Regions from separate parts of the Homo sapiens genome. Here regions 1, 2 and 4 are each linked to region 3. The links are contacts of gene promoters, found by promoter capture Hi-C in blood cells and fetal thymus (Javierre and others, 2016). All regions are on one chromosome and are shown on one strand. The core of a region is centred on a gene start or on the middle of the fragment in contact, and the rest is flanking DNA. Distances in the headings are between cores, read along the strand shown. Region 1 overlaps MBP (myelin basic protein). Region 2 overlaps MBP (myelin basic protein). Region 3 holds the start of ZNF516 (zinc finger protein 516). Region 4 holds the start of MBP (myelin basic protein).

Evidence for each region. Contacts are between HindIII fragments. The CHiCAGO score rates a contact against its expected background, and 5 or more counts as called.
Region 1: a contact is called between a fragment that was not itself captured here and the fragment with the promoter of ZNF516 in region 3, in 1 of 17 cell types (erythroblasts). The highest score is 6.6, in erythroblasts.
Region 2: a fragment that was not itself captured here is called in contact with the fragment with the promoter of ZNF516 in region 3 in 3 of 17 cell types (monocytes, neutrophils and total B cells); the score reaches 9.6 in monocytes.
Region 4: the fragment with the promoter of MBP here is called in contact with the fragment with the promoter of ZNF516 in region 3 in 1 of 17 cell types (monocytes); the score reaches 5.8 in monocytes.

The regions. Positions count from the first base shown.
Region 1 is chr18:77,110,621-77,113,691 of GRCh38, forward strand. All of the region lies in intron 1 of MBP (myelin basic protein), which reads right to left. Among named protein-coding and RNA genes, the nearest start is that of MBP, 21 kb to the right of the region's middle. RefSeq lists enhancers at 791-1,292, 1,293-1,794, 2,905-3,071. The HindIII fragment of the contact is 3,851 bases long and covers 1-3,071 here.
Region 2 is chr18:77,066,812-77,070,084 of GRCh38, forward strand. The region is part of intron 2 of MBP (myelin basic protein); the gene reads right to left. Among named protein-coding and RNA genes, the nearest start is that of MBP, 64 kb to the right of the region's middle. RefSeq lists an enhancer at 513-602. The HindIII fragment of the contact is 5,207 bases long and covers 1-3,273 here.
Region 3 is chr18:76,493,815-76,496,859 of GRCh38, forward strand. It overlaps ZNF516 (zinc finger protein 516), which reads right to left and starts at 1,428. Exons shown (of 7, transcript NM_014643.4): 1 at 1,330-1,428. It overlaps ZNF516-DT (ZNF516 divergent transcript), which reads left to right and starts at 1,525. Exons shown (of 2, transcript NR_164145.1): 1 at 1,525-1,972; 2 at 2,465-3,045. ZNF516-AS1 (ZNF516 antisense RNA 1) reads left to right here. Exons shown (of 2, transcript NR_136504.1): 2 at 1-104. RefSeq lists silencers at 458-547, 1,248-1,347, 1,478-1,537. The HindIII fragment of the contact is 7,170 bases long and covers 213-3,045 here.
Region 4 is chr18:77,131,312-77,134,492 of GRCh38, forward strand. MBP (myelin basic protein) reads right to left here and starts at 1,472. Exons shown (of 9, transcript NM_001025101.2): 1 at 1,269-1,472. RefSeq lists a silencer at 437-1,736. The HindIII fragment of the contact is 15,459 bases long and covers 1-3,181 here.

The DNA of each region.
Region 1 (3,071 bases), core at 133-2,632, 620 kb after region 3:
TTTCCCAGCAGCCCTTGCAGCTGTTGCTGGTCACCGCCGGACAAGGGGCCTTTCTCCATTCCATAAGTGTGTATGGAACTTTTGTTCTAAGACCACTTCCCTAGGCATCAGATAAATTAGATAAGATTTTTTTTTCTGTATTTGGAAACTGTAACATGTTATACCTAAACAGACACATGAGAATATATTATAAAACATATAAATTGTGGTTAATTTAATAAAATCTAACCAGCAGGATCCACTTGGGAAAGTCTTAACTTGTGCCTCTGCTAGTAGAATTTGAAGAGCCCACCATGAAGGCATCTTTTTCTGCTTTCTCTGCTTTTTAAAATCCCAGGAGCAATGTTTTCGACATCCCAGGTGCTTTGGAGTCTTCGCGGTGTACGGGACCTTAAAGCTGAGCTGGCTGTATTGCCTCGTGGCTGCTCCAGTCCTGTGCTAGACCTCTCGCTGGGTCTCGGGGTTCTCAGCGCCTGTTCAGAAAGCCTGGCAATGTTTGCCTGGGAGGAAAAGCTCCATAAATACACGCTGAAGACACGACTCTGTGGGTCCGTCAGATGAAACACAGCATCACCCAGCATCCACCGAGGAGCCCAGTGCTCATGGGCACGGTTCTGTATTTTGGAGGTGCCATGACTACAGCTTCTTGAAGAAGGCAACTAAGGGAAACGCTACTGTGGATCTGCACACATCAGAAAAGGCTTCTCTGACCCCTCAACTGTGTGCAAAATAATAAAGGAGATACCATGTAGAATTCAGGTAGAGAGAGGTGCAGACCCAGTATCCCAGGAAAGGAAAACCTGAATAAACAGTGGAACTGTGGAAATTCCAGAGGATTGTCGTGCCCCTTTGTAGAGACGCTAAAGGCCAGGCAGGGGCAGCAGCAGAAGGCTGTGGGCTGCAGGAAGGAGACCCCCACGGGAGGGCCCTGGTGTCGTGTGAGCCCTGGGCAGGTCCACTCGGTCTTGTGAGGCCTCTGCCTCCTCTCCAGCACCCAGGGCGGGATTCACCAGGGCCACCACCAACATGCTGAGACCTGGTGATCTCCTCAGCCGTTGGTAACTGCTTGGGAGACCACGCCCTGGCTTGGCAGGCTCAGTAAGAGCTGTAGACACCGCCCACCCTCCCTGCAGAGAGAAAACAGCCCCTCACCCCTAGAACACGGACAGTGACAGCCTCAAGTCGGAGGGGCAGGCCCTATAACTCTGCTTCTTTGACATTTGAAAAAGAAATCCTGGAGAACAAATTTCAAAGAACAAGCAACTCATATATAAAATAAAACCAAAGATATCTGAAAGAAAATAAATGAAACCAAGTGACGGGACTTCTCTTCTTTCACTATCCTTGTCTCCTTTCTCTCTCCCCCGACGTCCCTCCCTCCATTCCTCTTCCTCTTATTCTACCAATACCCAAGCACTGAAGACTGTGTTCTGCAAGCAATCATTTTTATTTCTCAAACCAAAAGTATGATTGTAACACTCTGTGTTCGGAGCATAGTACACAGCTACCAACGTCACCAAAAACCCGTAGAATGAACACCGTGCACACGCACACACACACACACACACACGTGCGCGCGCGGCAAAAAGAAACAGCTCATTTCGGAGCTGAGGACAAGGCGTGGGAAGAAGACGCGTTTGGTTTCACCCAGGCGGGTGGCGGCAAAGCTGTGGGATGCGCGCTGCACACTCCTTCCGTCATCCCGTTCCCACCTTCCACACACACCTGCGGGAGGTCGGACATGTCCTGATTGCGTGTTCATCACGATGGCAAACCGAACATGAGGAGAACGCCACTGACGCTGGGTGCGCCGGCTTTCCCAGCCCTCGTGCATAACGGGGAGGGAGATGCAGAAGTTTTTTCCAACATCGGTGCAAAGGGGAAGCTGAGGTTTTCCTATGGAGGAGGGTCAGATCCCTCTCTTCCTCATCTCCCTCCCCCTCCCCCTTCTCTGTTTCCAGCTCCCTGTGGACTCTGTCCCACCCACAAGCTCGAGGCTGCTGCCACATGGAAGGCCGGGAGAGAGACGGGCGGCCAGGACAGGGGCCGGCTGTTTGCAGGGGAGGCATGTGTGTGGAGAACGCCTAGGAGCACGTGGGTGGCCACGAACCCTGACCGTGCAGGTCGAGAAACTCTTCCAGGATAGTATGTGGTGGATCGTGTCTGCCTAAAAGGTATGTCCAAGTCCTGACCCCAGGACCTGTGAAGGTGGCCTGATTTGGAAGGAAGGTTTTGTAGATGTCCTCAAGTTAAGATGAGGTCATCCTGGATTACAGTGGGCTCTAAATGCAATGACTGATGTTCTTACAAGAGAAAGGAGAGGGATTTTTTTTTTTGAGACAGAGTTTCACTCTTGTTGCCGAGGCTGGAGTGCGATGGTGCGATCTCAGCTCACTGCCACCTCCGCCTCCCGGGTTCAAGCAATCTCCTGCCTCAGACTCCAGAGTAGCTGGGATTACAGGTGTCCGCCACCACACCTGGCTAATTTTTTGTATTTTTAGTAGAGATGGGGGTTTCACCATGTTGGCCAGGCTGGTCTCGAACTCCTGACCTTAGGTGATCCACCCATCTCAGCCTCCCAAAATGCTGGGATTAGAGGCATGCAGCACTGTGCCTGGTCAAGGAGAGGGAATTTTGGACATAGATACACGGCATTTCACACAGGGAGAAACACCACATGACAATGGAGGCAGAGATTTGGAATGACATGGCTACAAGGCCAGGGACACCAGGGATTGCCGCAGCCACCAGAAGCTGGAAGAGGTGAAGACAGAGCCTCCTGCAGAGCTCCCACTCTGCCAACGCCTTGACTTTGCACTTCTGGCCTCCAGGACTGTGTGTGTGTGGGGGGCTGCTTCTGCTGTTTCAGGACGCCCACCTGTGGTGCCGCCTTGCAGCAGCCCTACAGGGTAACATGCAGGGAAGTGGGAAGTAAGTGGAGACTTGCAGGATGCAGAAGGTGCAGGTGAAGGTGCTGAGGAGGGAAACAGCGTTCTGGGCAGAGGGCACGGCTGTGCAAAGGCCCTGTTGCACAGACACTGTGAGTGGAGTTTGAGTGTGGCATGAAGTGA
Region 2 (3,273 bases), core at 1-2,500, 570 kb after region 3:
TGGGAGAATGAGTCCTTTTAGGGACAGAAAACGAAGCTGATGTCCGGAGGCACTTTTGCATTCCAGGGGAGGAAGCGGCCTGTTGTGGTGTTATGGGGTGGGCCAGGCCCCCTGGCCACTCCTCTGGGAATCTTCGGCTTCAGAGTTTCTCCTCTGGGCCTCCCTTTGCCTGTCGTTTGGGGCCCGAATGGCAGTGTGAGCTTGTTTTTCGAGTTTAAAGTTTTCAGTACATAGTTTGATCACCAGTGCAGAGAGAAGACATGGTTCAGCTTCCTGATATATTTGTAATCAATTTTACTTAACTATTTTGAAATGTCACACTTGCACATTGAATGATTCAAATGCTCTAGAAAGTGCACAGTGGCTGCGTGCTGAAACCCCGGGGTCTCCTGGATGCCCCCCCGCCCCCTTCTGGGAGGCAGCTGGCATTTCCAGCTCCTTCCAGACTTTGCACAATCATCTGGGCACCTTCAGACAATGACACATGGGTATTCTTTTCCCTCCTTTCTGTCTTCACATAAATGGCATCACACTGTGGATGATATGCTCCTTCTTGCTTTTGCCAGGGAAAGAGGGATCCTGGAGGTGACGTCATGTCGGCACGCACAGACTGCTTGCACAGCCCGCTAGCATTTCAGTTACTGTTCACACCTCACCAGGCTCCACAACCACCATCCAGCTTGTTCACATTTGTGTTTTTCAACCCTAACCGTGTTGCACTAATTTCCTGTTCACTTCTCAGAATGCACATGGCCAAGGAGTATTTCTGGAGGAGGAATGAGTCACACTGGAGCTTTCACTGAGCGGGCGTCAGTGCTGTGGGCAGCCGCGCTGGCCCTGGTGCTACCCACCAGCAGCACCGGGAGGCTGCTTCTCTCGGGTGCCACTCCCTGCAGCGCCCCACCCTGGTCTCTGCACTTAAGTTTGTACCAATTTTCCACCCAATCTCTCATTTCCTGGGAGCCTTTAACCCAGGACCATAATATGTACATAGTCTCAATTTTACATTCTTTTCCTTCTGGAGAGAGGGGCAGGCACAGCCATTAAGACCACCCTGAAGTCTGATTCAGACCTAGTGTGACTCACTTATGTACTGCAGGCTGTTTGTTCCTGGAGAGAAGTCCAGCCCTCTGAGCTCACACCAGCCAGGGCCCTACACTCCGCCTCCTGGTCACTAAGAGCCCTATCTGGAAACCCTCCATCCCGTGTGTGTGTGTGTGTGTGTGTTTGTGTGTGTGTGTATCCATTCCCATCCCTGGGCAGACAGGAGGGGATGGGTGGGTAAGGTCCCCACCAACCAATGTTTACGGCATTGTTTCTACAATTCAATGCTGTCTGGTGTGATTAACAGATAAAAAACACACGGGTTATTGGACTCACAAAATTGAGGAGGGAAGAATTTGCCTTCACGTTGTGAAATTAAATTGATAAGAGGACACTGGTTTGGACTGAGCTCCTGCACTGGGCCCAGCAGACGCCCCCGTATGAAGTATGGTACCAAGCCCAAATGAAGATCTTTATTTGACCTTCTGAGCAATCAGGAGAGGTAACAGCCCAACTTCCAAGCAGGCCAGGTTTAGCCCAGATGACGAGGAAGTCCCGTCTGCTTTAACCTTTATGGGGAAGTCATCTTGGAACCACCACACATCCGCCTGCATTTTGTTCTCTGTGTCTGCTTTCCTCAGTCTGTTTATAAACCAACCTCCTCTGCTCGGCTCATTGGAGCACTCATTCTGTTTTGCAGAAAGAGGTGTTGCCTGATTCTAGAATGACAAATAGCAGCCAATTAAGGTGTTCACATTTGTTGTAACTTTGTGTACACCTGCCAGGCTTCTGTTGCTGGTTGGCCGCTGTAGAAACCAAGCTGCTGCTTTCCAGATTGCGAGTCACAGAGTCCCACGAAACAGTTACTAATAAGCAATGAAATGCAGAGAATGTTCAAACTCACTAGTAATCAGAGAAATACAGAGCGAAACAAAAATGAGATTTCTTTTTAACACAAGTAGAAAACAAACTGATGTCTGGCATTGCTAGAGATGTGGTGGGAGGGAAACTTTCCTGGGACTGGAATAAACACTCTCAGCCTCTTTGGGAGGACAAAGAGCAGCAGCCGCCACCACGGAGCTGAGCCTTGGGGGCCTCACCTCGGGGACTCTGACCTCACCTCGGGGCCTCTGACCTCACCCCCATGGCTTCCAGGCTCCCAGCAGCCTGTGACTTCTGCGGATTTTCCTGTGTCTCTATTACAGAAACTCCCAGAACAGTCCATTGTTTTATTCCCCTCCCTGTGATGCGGTGAATACTGTGAGAACAAGAACAGTGCCTTACACACCTTCCCAACCCTCAGGCCTAGCACAGTGCCTGGCGCCCAGAGAGAGCTTTTTAAACATAGTTAAAATGGATTGTTTCTGTTTCAGCAGAGGGAGCCAAAGATAGCTGGCTATGTACACTTTTCATATCTATCCAGTTAATTTCAGAAGACACTAAAACTTGGAAAATAAATAATTTCCCGATAGTCTTTCCTCAGCTAGGAATTCATGTCATATTTTTTTACATCCTGCTTCTATGCTAATAGGAGATCATATTCTTCACTAATTACAAAATAATAAGTGTTATTTAAGAACTAATTAAGTACGATTCAGCTACCGTCGTTATTGATCATAGATGCATTTTCTTCATGCTTAATGTCTCTCCAAGCGGGACACCACTAGGACCAGTAGTGTCCTCCCATTGGCGTGGGAAGCCCTTCTCACCGGAGAGTAGAACAATGCCGCATCTTAGAAATGAGGCGTTTCAGATGCAGAGTGAAAGCTGATCTTTAAATCACAGCACTTTGCTTTAAGTGCGTGGCGGGGGATAACCTAGCGGCAGCCACTTCCCTGTATCCACTTCCCAGGCTGGTTTCGAGGGTGGGGGCAGCATAAGCATGAGGAGGAATTTTGTGTCCTGTGCGCCAGCTTGTGCACACGTTGGTCCCACAGCTATGGTGCGTCCACTCTGTTTATCCCTCACACCAAAGCGGCCACAGGTGGACCCTGAATAGTGATGGCAGACAGGACTCCAAATCCGCCTTTTTCTCCACCTTCTCAACTCAGTTCTCTGATGGTTCAACATCTCTAGGTCATACAGGGACACAGGACGCGTGCAGAAAGTACATACGGGCCTGGGAAATTTCATGACTAATTTCTACTCAAATATAAGGTTTGTTTTTGAGACCCGATATTGCTATTCCAAAAATATAAAATATTCCCCTATGATGAACACATTTCCTGT
Region 3 (3,045 bases), core at 178-2,677:
GTTACACCAGTCGCCTTTTCAAAAAATGTAAACCAACAATGCAGCAGCAAATGGCTTTTTGTGCATCTGGATTAAATAAAGCACAGAATGAATATATTTAAAAAGAGGGCTGCGCAAGTTGATCTTTGCACACCCGGAGACCCGGTGACTCTTTATCAGCGGAATGAGTAAGACACACACACAGCCCCCAGAGCTCCCGGTCTGCTGCGGGAAGCTTATTAACGCTGATAATAGATGAGGCTGACTTACAGACCCACATTTTTCGGGTAAAAGGCTGGTTCCCTCTGGTCCCTAATTGCGGGGGTCCACTGGCTTTCCTCACCACACACATAAACTGCTGCTTTTAAATACCCCACTCGGCTGCCATTTAACAAACTTATTCATACAAAGTTTCGTTAAAACTTGAGGCGGTTTAATCTAAATACTGATCGTAACTATTCAGTCTGTTAGTTCTCCCTGGAAATGGCAGCGGAGGCGCCTCCCCCCACCTCCCGCCCAACCACACACACCCCACCGCATTCTTCCTTCATACACCCGGGTTCATCTCGCCACCGAGGCCTCCCCCACCCGCACCCGGCGGGGCGCAGCTCCGAGGAGTCCCTGCCCACCCCTCTCCGAGTCGGTGCCAGACCCTCGCCCCCACCCCCACCCCCGCCCGAACTTCCCTTCCAGGACCTCTCACTTCTTTAACGTTAGGGTCACTTAGAAGCTCCCAGCAGACTGGCAAGCAGCCGGGGAGGGGGCCGTAAAAAACAAGGCCACCCCCACCTCCACGCAAACACGTCCCCTAGGCAGCAGCGCGCGGTGCCCACAGGCATCGATCCCATCCGCCAAACCCTTAATAATTGAAGCGGCTCCTCGGGCCCGCAGCCCCATCACCCACCTTCATTAGCCGGAGCGTTTTACTTTAAAGTAAGGCAATTTGCTCTTTGTCTCCTAATGGATGGAGAGCGCATCCGAGCTCCCCTCCTCCCGCGTCGCCTTTGACAAAGTGTACAAAGCCAGAGCCTCTTCCGCGCTCCCACCCCGGCCCCCACCCCGCCCCTCCACTGCGGTAAAAACCACCTCCCGGGCGCTCGCCCCGCCGCCCGAAGTTGCATCTTCCCCTATCCTGGAATTGACGAGCAGAGCAACTACCCACCGGGAAAGCCAAGTAGCCCTCCCCGCGCCCGGGGGGCCCCTCCCCGGCGCACCCCCCTCCCCAGCGCCTCCCCCCCTACCCCCAGCGGCGCACACCAGAGTACGGGGCACGTCGGGGCTCCGGGCCCCGCGCCCACCGCCCGCCCGCGGCCCCTGCGGCGCAGCCCTCCCCCCGCCCGCGGCCCCTACCTTGGCAGGGAGGCGGCGGGCCTGGGGAGGAGGACGCGCACGCCCCGCGCATCTGAAGGTGAAGCCGAGCGCCCGCGGCGCGGAGCCGAGCGCTGCACTAGACCGACCGCGCCAGCTGCGCCCGGGCGCGGGGGACGCGCGAGGGCGCGCGGGGCCCGCCACGCGCCCGGCCCCCTCCTCGCGCCGCCCGCGCGCGCCCCGGACGCGTCCGCCCCGCGGGGGCCCCGGCGCGAGCCGGGCTCGGGGGGCTGCGCGGCACGGGGAGGGGGCCGGGCGCTCACGGCCCGGCGCAGGCCGGAGGCTTCCCCCAGCCTGGAAATGGTCTGCCCTGTAGGAAACGCACACTCCACTATTGTCTCATCAGCACAAAGTTCTGCCACACTGAGGGGACAGTCTGGAGGCTTGCAGTGACTCAGACACAGCCAATTCCTCCCCTAATAGCACTGAATCACGGTTCCAGCGGCCAGTGGTCGCCCCTCGTCAAGGTCTAAGGCTGCTGCAGCCCCGGCTCCCGGAGGCCGTTTCCGCGCGCACACGCGCATCCATACGTACAGACGTGCTCGGGATGCGGGTCCCGCCGGCGGGTACCTGGGCACTGCGCCCCATCTGGACTGAAATGGGGACACCCCTTCGGGGGTCCCAGGTGCGTGTGCATTACACACGGCGTAGCGTGTGCGTGTCACTCAACTTCCTGGTAAATGCCTCTGGGGGTGTTCAGATGCAGGATCAATACATTAAGTCCTGAATCAAGGGTCACAGAGGTCCCGCTGGAAAGACTTCAAACAGCGGCTCTGCCACCCGGCCATTTAAAAATGAAGGGGTTGTTTACCGGTAGCCTCGAAAGTTCAACTCTTATTTTTCTGTTCTTAAAACTTCATTTCTTCACCTCACCTACTCCCCACGAGCAGTAGTTAGTTGTAATAAGTTGAGTCTGGGACTAGAAATCCTAATTTGACTCCAAAACGCTCTCCTGTTACAGGGCAGGGATGGCCGGGGTGGGGGAGGGGAGGGCGGGCGCGCGGGGGCGGGGGAGGGGCGGGTCGGAGCTAGCGAGGGCGAGCGCCCCTTCACGGCCGGTGACGTAGACCCGGGGAGCTGCGGCCTGCGGAGGGGTAACACTATCTTCTCCCACCAGGCTCCTGGCCGTATTGTTCTCCTTCTCCTCGTGATAACTCCGCAGTGGAGGTGGATTCCGTCCAAGACGCCCAACGTGGCTCCGCGTAGCAATCAGCGCTGCAATCCTGGCGGTTACCTCAGCGGCGGCGTCTCTCTCTGCGCCTCACACTCGCAGCCCGCGGCCCTCCCCAACTTAGGGCGTTTACAAAAGAAACTACTCCAGACGCGCTGCAAAGGGAGGCGCATGTGCCCGAAAGCTGGCGATCAGACGGGGGGGGCATTCTGCATGTGTGATGTTTCTGGGGGCGGTGGGGAGTGTGTGTCGGGGTCGGGGGGCGGGGGGGAGTCAGGCAGAAAGACAGGGACAACCTCCGCTATGAAGGATCCGCGAGTCCTCAAATGTAAGCTCCGTGTGACTAACGACCTGCACTGATTTGGAGAGCGGGCATGTTAAAGGTCACGGACAATTGTTGCTGGCTTCAGCATGAATGCCTAAGTGGGATGTATTCTTCAGCAATCACGTTTAAGTCTGATTCACCGAAAAGTATTGACGTGCCCACCATTCATTTCAGTACACTGTGAAAATGCACAAAGAAAGTA
Region 4 (3,181 bases), core at 222-2,721, 640 kb after region 3:
AAACTGTCCCCCGGAGCTTCGCCAGATAAAATGTCCAAAACACACACTGGAGTTCCCTGACGTTTCCTTCCTCTGAAAAACTCTCTTTCCAGGCGGGGCGTTCTGTGGTCAGACGAGGCAGAGGCCTCCCCGGAACGAAGTCCACGCCCCCTCCCCACCCCAGCACCCAGCGAGCCCACGCGCCCCTCACCCACGCGCAGAGAAACCGAGCACTTGTTGATTCTCACGTTGTTGCAATTGGAAAACGGAACAAGGAACCAGAGCTCGCCTGTTTCCAGCCAGAGTCGCACGGGGGTCCCCAAAGACGCTTGAACCTTTTCCCAAGCCCCACTCCACCTTCCAAAACGGGGGGGCTCAGGTGGACGCGAAAGGACACAAGGCGCTGCCCCCAGCACCCCGGAAAATCTAGTGTGGCGGCAAATGACCGCAGGTCACACACCCCGGCCTCGGGGGCCACGGAAAACGGACGCACCCGGCCCAGGACAGGCAGTGGGGCCCAGGAGGGGACTGCCGGGAAGACCCGGGCGGGCCGGCGGGCGGCTGCGGGCGGCGCACGTGGGCCCAGGTGGGCGCAGCGACGGGCCCGGCCGAAGAGCCCGAGACAGGCCCTGCGAAGGCGGAAGCCCGGACCCGGGCTCTCCTGGCCGCCCCTGGAGCTCAGAGGGAGACTGCGCTTCGCCCCGGGGGCAGGGGCAGGAGCGCGATCGCGCGCGGGGCCCCCGGGGTGTGATTAGCAGGCGCCGCGAGCCGGGAGGACCCCCCAGCCCGCCCTGGCAGCCAGCACCCTCTCCACACCCGCCCAGAGTGGCCGCTTTTGACCGCCGTCCCCTCCCACCCTAGACTCCTCCCCTCAGCCCCACGGCCCGAGGCCGAGCGGTTTCAGCGACCCTGGGACCGCCGGGCCTGGCTGGAGTCCACCCCTGGACACCTGTCAGGGTCGGGCCCCGGCGCTGTAAACCCGCGTCTACACCCGCGCCCAGCCCCCGCGCAATGGGGATCGGGGGCGGCGACTTGGGTTCGGGTCAGGGAGGCCGCCGGCTGCTACCTGCTCGGCCACCTGCTCCGCTGCCTAGGTTCTCCCTGCGCGTCCCCAGCCAAGAAAGGGACCCGGAGTCCGGGCGTCGGGATAGCTCCTGTCCCCGATCTTGCGCCCCCGGCTCCCGCGGGGCTCCGGTCCGGGGTCCCGCCCAGGTCTCCGCGGTCCCCACTCGGAGGGGCACAGAGACAAAGGCGGCAGAGCAGCCCGCCCGTCCCCGAGGGTCACCCACCGGCGCTGCGCTCGTTGCTCCGAGGCCGAGGGGCGCCGCGGGGTCCAAGGCCCTGCTCCGCCTGCCCAGGCCCGGGCAGGCTGGTCTCGGCTTCAAGCGCCCACGCGCGGGGTCCCCGGGCAGCCTGCTTCGCCTTCCGGGGTCGGGAGACAGGGGCCGCCGGGGCCGGAGGCTGCTTCTCTCTGGCGCGCGGCGGCGGTGACTGACGGCGGCGGCTCCGAGGGACGGGCGCGCACCCAGCTCCCCGGCCCCGCCTCCCCGGGCTTCCTGCGAGCCAGGTAAACACAGGCCGATCCCGCCGGGCCCGCCCCACCTGGACGCGGCCGCCGGCGCCGCCCCGGGAGCTCGGAGGACCCCGGGCCCGCTCTGCCCACGCGGAACTTGGGGGGCGCACGGGGCCCACGCGCAGGGTCAGACCTCGGAGGGGCGGCCTGGAGCCTCGCCCGCTGCCGAACTGGGCTCCGAACTGCGGCCCGTCGACCCTTCCCGTTCGGAGGCTTGGCCTCCGAACCCACCCCGACCCCGACCTCGACCTCGCGGGAGGGGTGCCAGGCCGCATCTCCCCGCGTCCTCAGGGGCTGGAAACCCCAGAAACTGCCGATAGACTTGGCGCAGCCCCGGCCCTGCAGGAGGAGAGTCAGCCCGGCCTGGAGGCGAAAGGAGCCGGCAGGTCCTCCCAAGGCACTCCCTCCCTCCCCTGGAGCCCAGGCCAGGCCCATGTCCGGCTGGCAGGTGCTCCTCTGGGAGCTGGGAGCTGGGAGCTGGGAGCTAGGGGCGCACCTTCTCCTGCAGGACCGGCGCAGGAAGCGTGCGCGGAAAAGACAGCAAAACACGCGCAGGTGCGAGGAAGCAGCCTGGTCCTGCAGCCCAGAGACATCGTGGTCTTCGTCGCTGTCTTGTTAAAAAGAAAAAGCCTGCTGTTTAGCCGTGACTCACCTGCACACAGATTTAGTGGTCAGAGATCTTTCTCTGGATTCTCAGCCTCCTGATGGTGGAAGAGGAGGAGGTTGGGGGAGTCCCAGAATGAGGCCCCGCGTTCCTCCTGACCTACACCCCCAGTCAGGGATCTGGATCTGGAGCTTCCAGGGGACCTGGAGCAGCCTGGGACCCACACAGTTTGTTAGGAAGTGAGGGAGAGGGGTGAGCGCTGTCCCGGCCCGCGCTGGGAGGCGGGACTCAGACTTCAGCACGGGGTCGGGGTTTCGGCCTAAAACCAGCCTCCCCCAAAGCCCCGGAGGATTTAGCAACTGTCTTCAAATGCTGGCAACTGGAAGAGAAATACTTCCACAACGACGCAAAAGCATTCAGTCTGGTCGTTTCCTCAGGAGAGATTTTCAAGTGGAGGGGGCAGGAGGGTTCTGAGACTTTGAGGCTGAAGGTGAGGAGGGAAAAGGGTGCCAAAGATAGTGTGTTTCTCCAATTTTTCTGCCCCACAACCTCACTTTAAGTCAAGGATGAGCGGAGTGGGCGTGGGAGGCTGGACAGCTGCCCTAGGAGCACGGGTGGTGACAATGAACCCGGGTGCACCCAGGTCCCAGCTCAAGTCACTCAAAGCTCAGGCTGGGGAAGCTGGAACACTAAAATGGGTCCCATTTTAGATACCTGCTTTAGCATCAGAAACAGCTTTTCCTCCCCAAAATATCTCTTGGCTTTATCTCAGTGACTCCACAGGGCGGGGCCACCTTCCTGCCTGCAGATGTCCCTGTGTGCTGGGCTCTGGAGCGTCCCTCAGGCCACAGTGACAGCTGCACACGCGGCCTTCTGTTTGGTGCTCCTTCTGCTGGTGTTACAGTGGTTTCCTGAAACACTACATATGCCAACAGTCAGCCCTACAAATGTCAGGCTCCACAAGTTCCAGTTAAAAGTCTTTTTAAAGTATTTATGAAATTTCACCGTGCATATTTTGTTGGGAT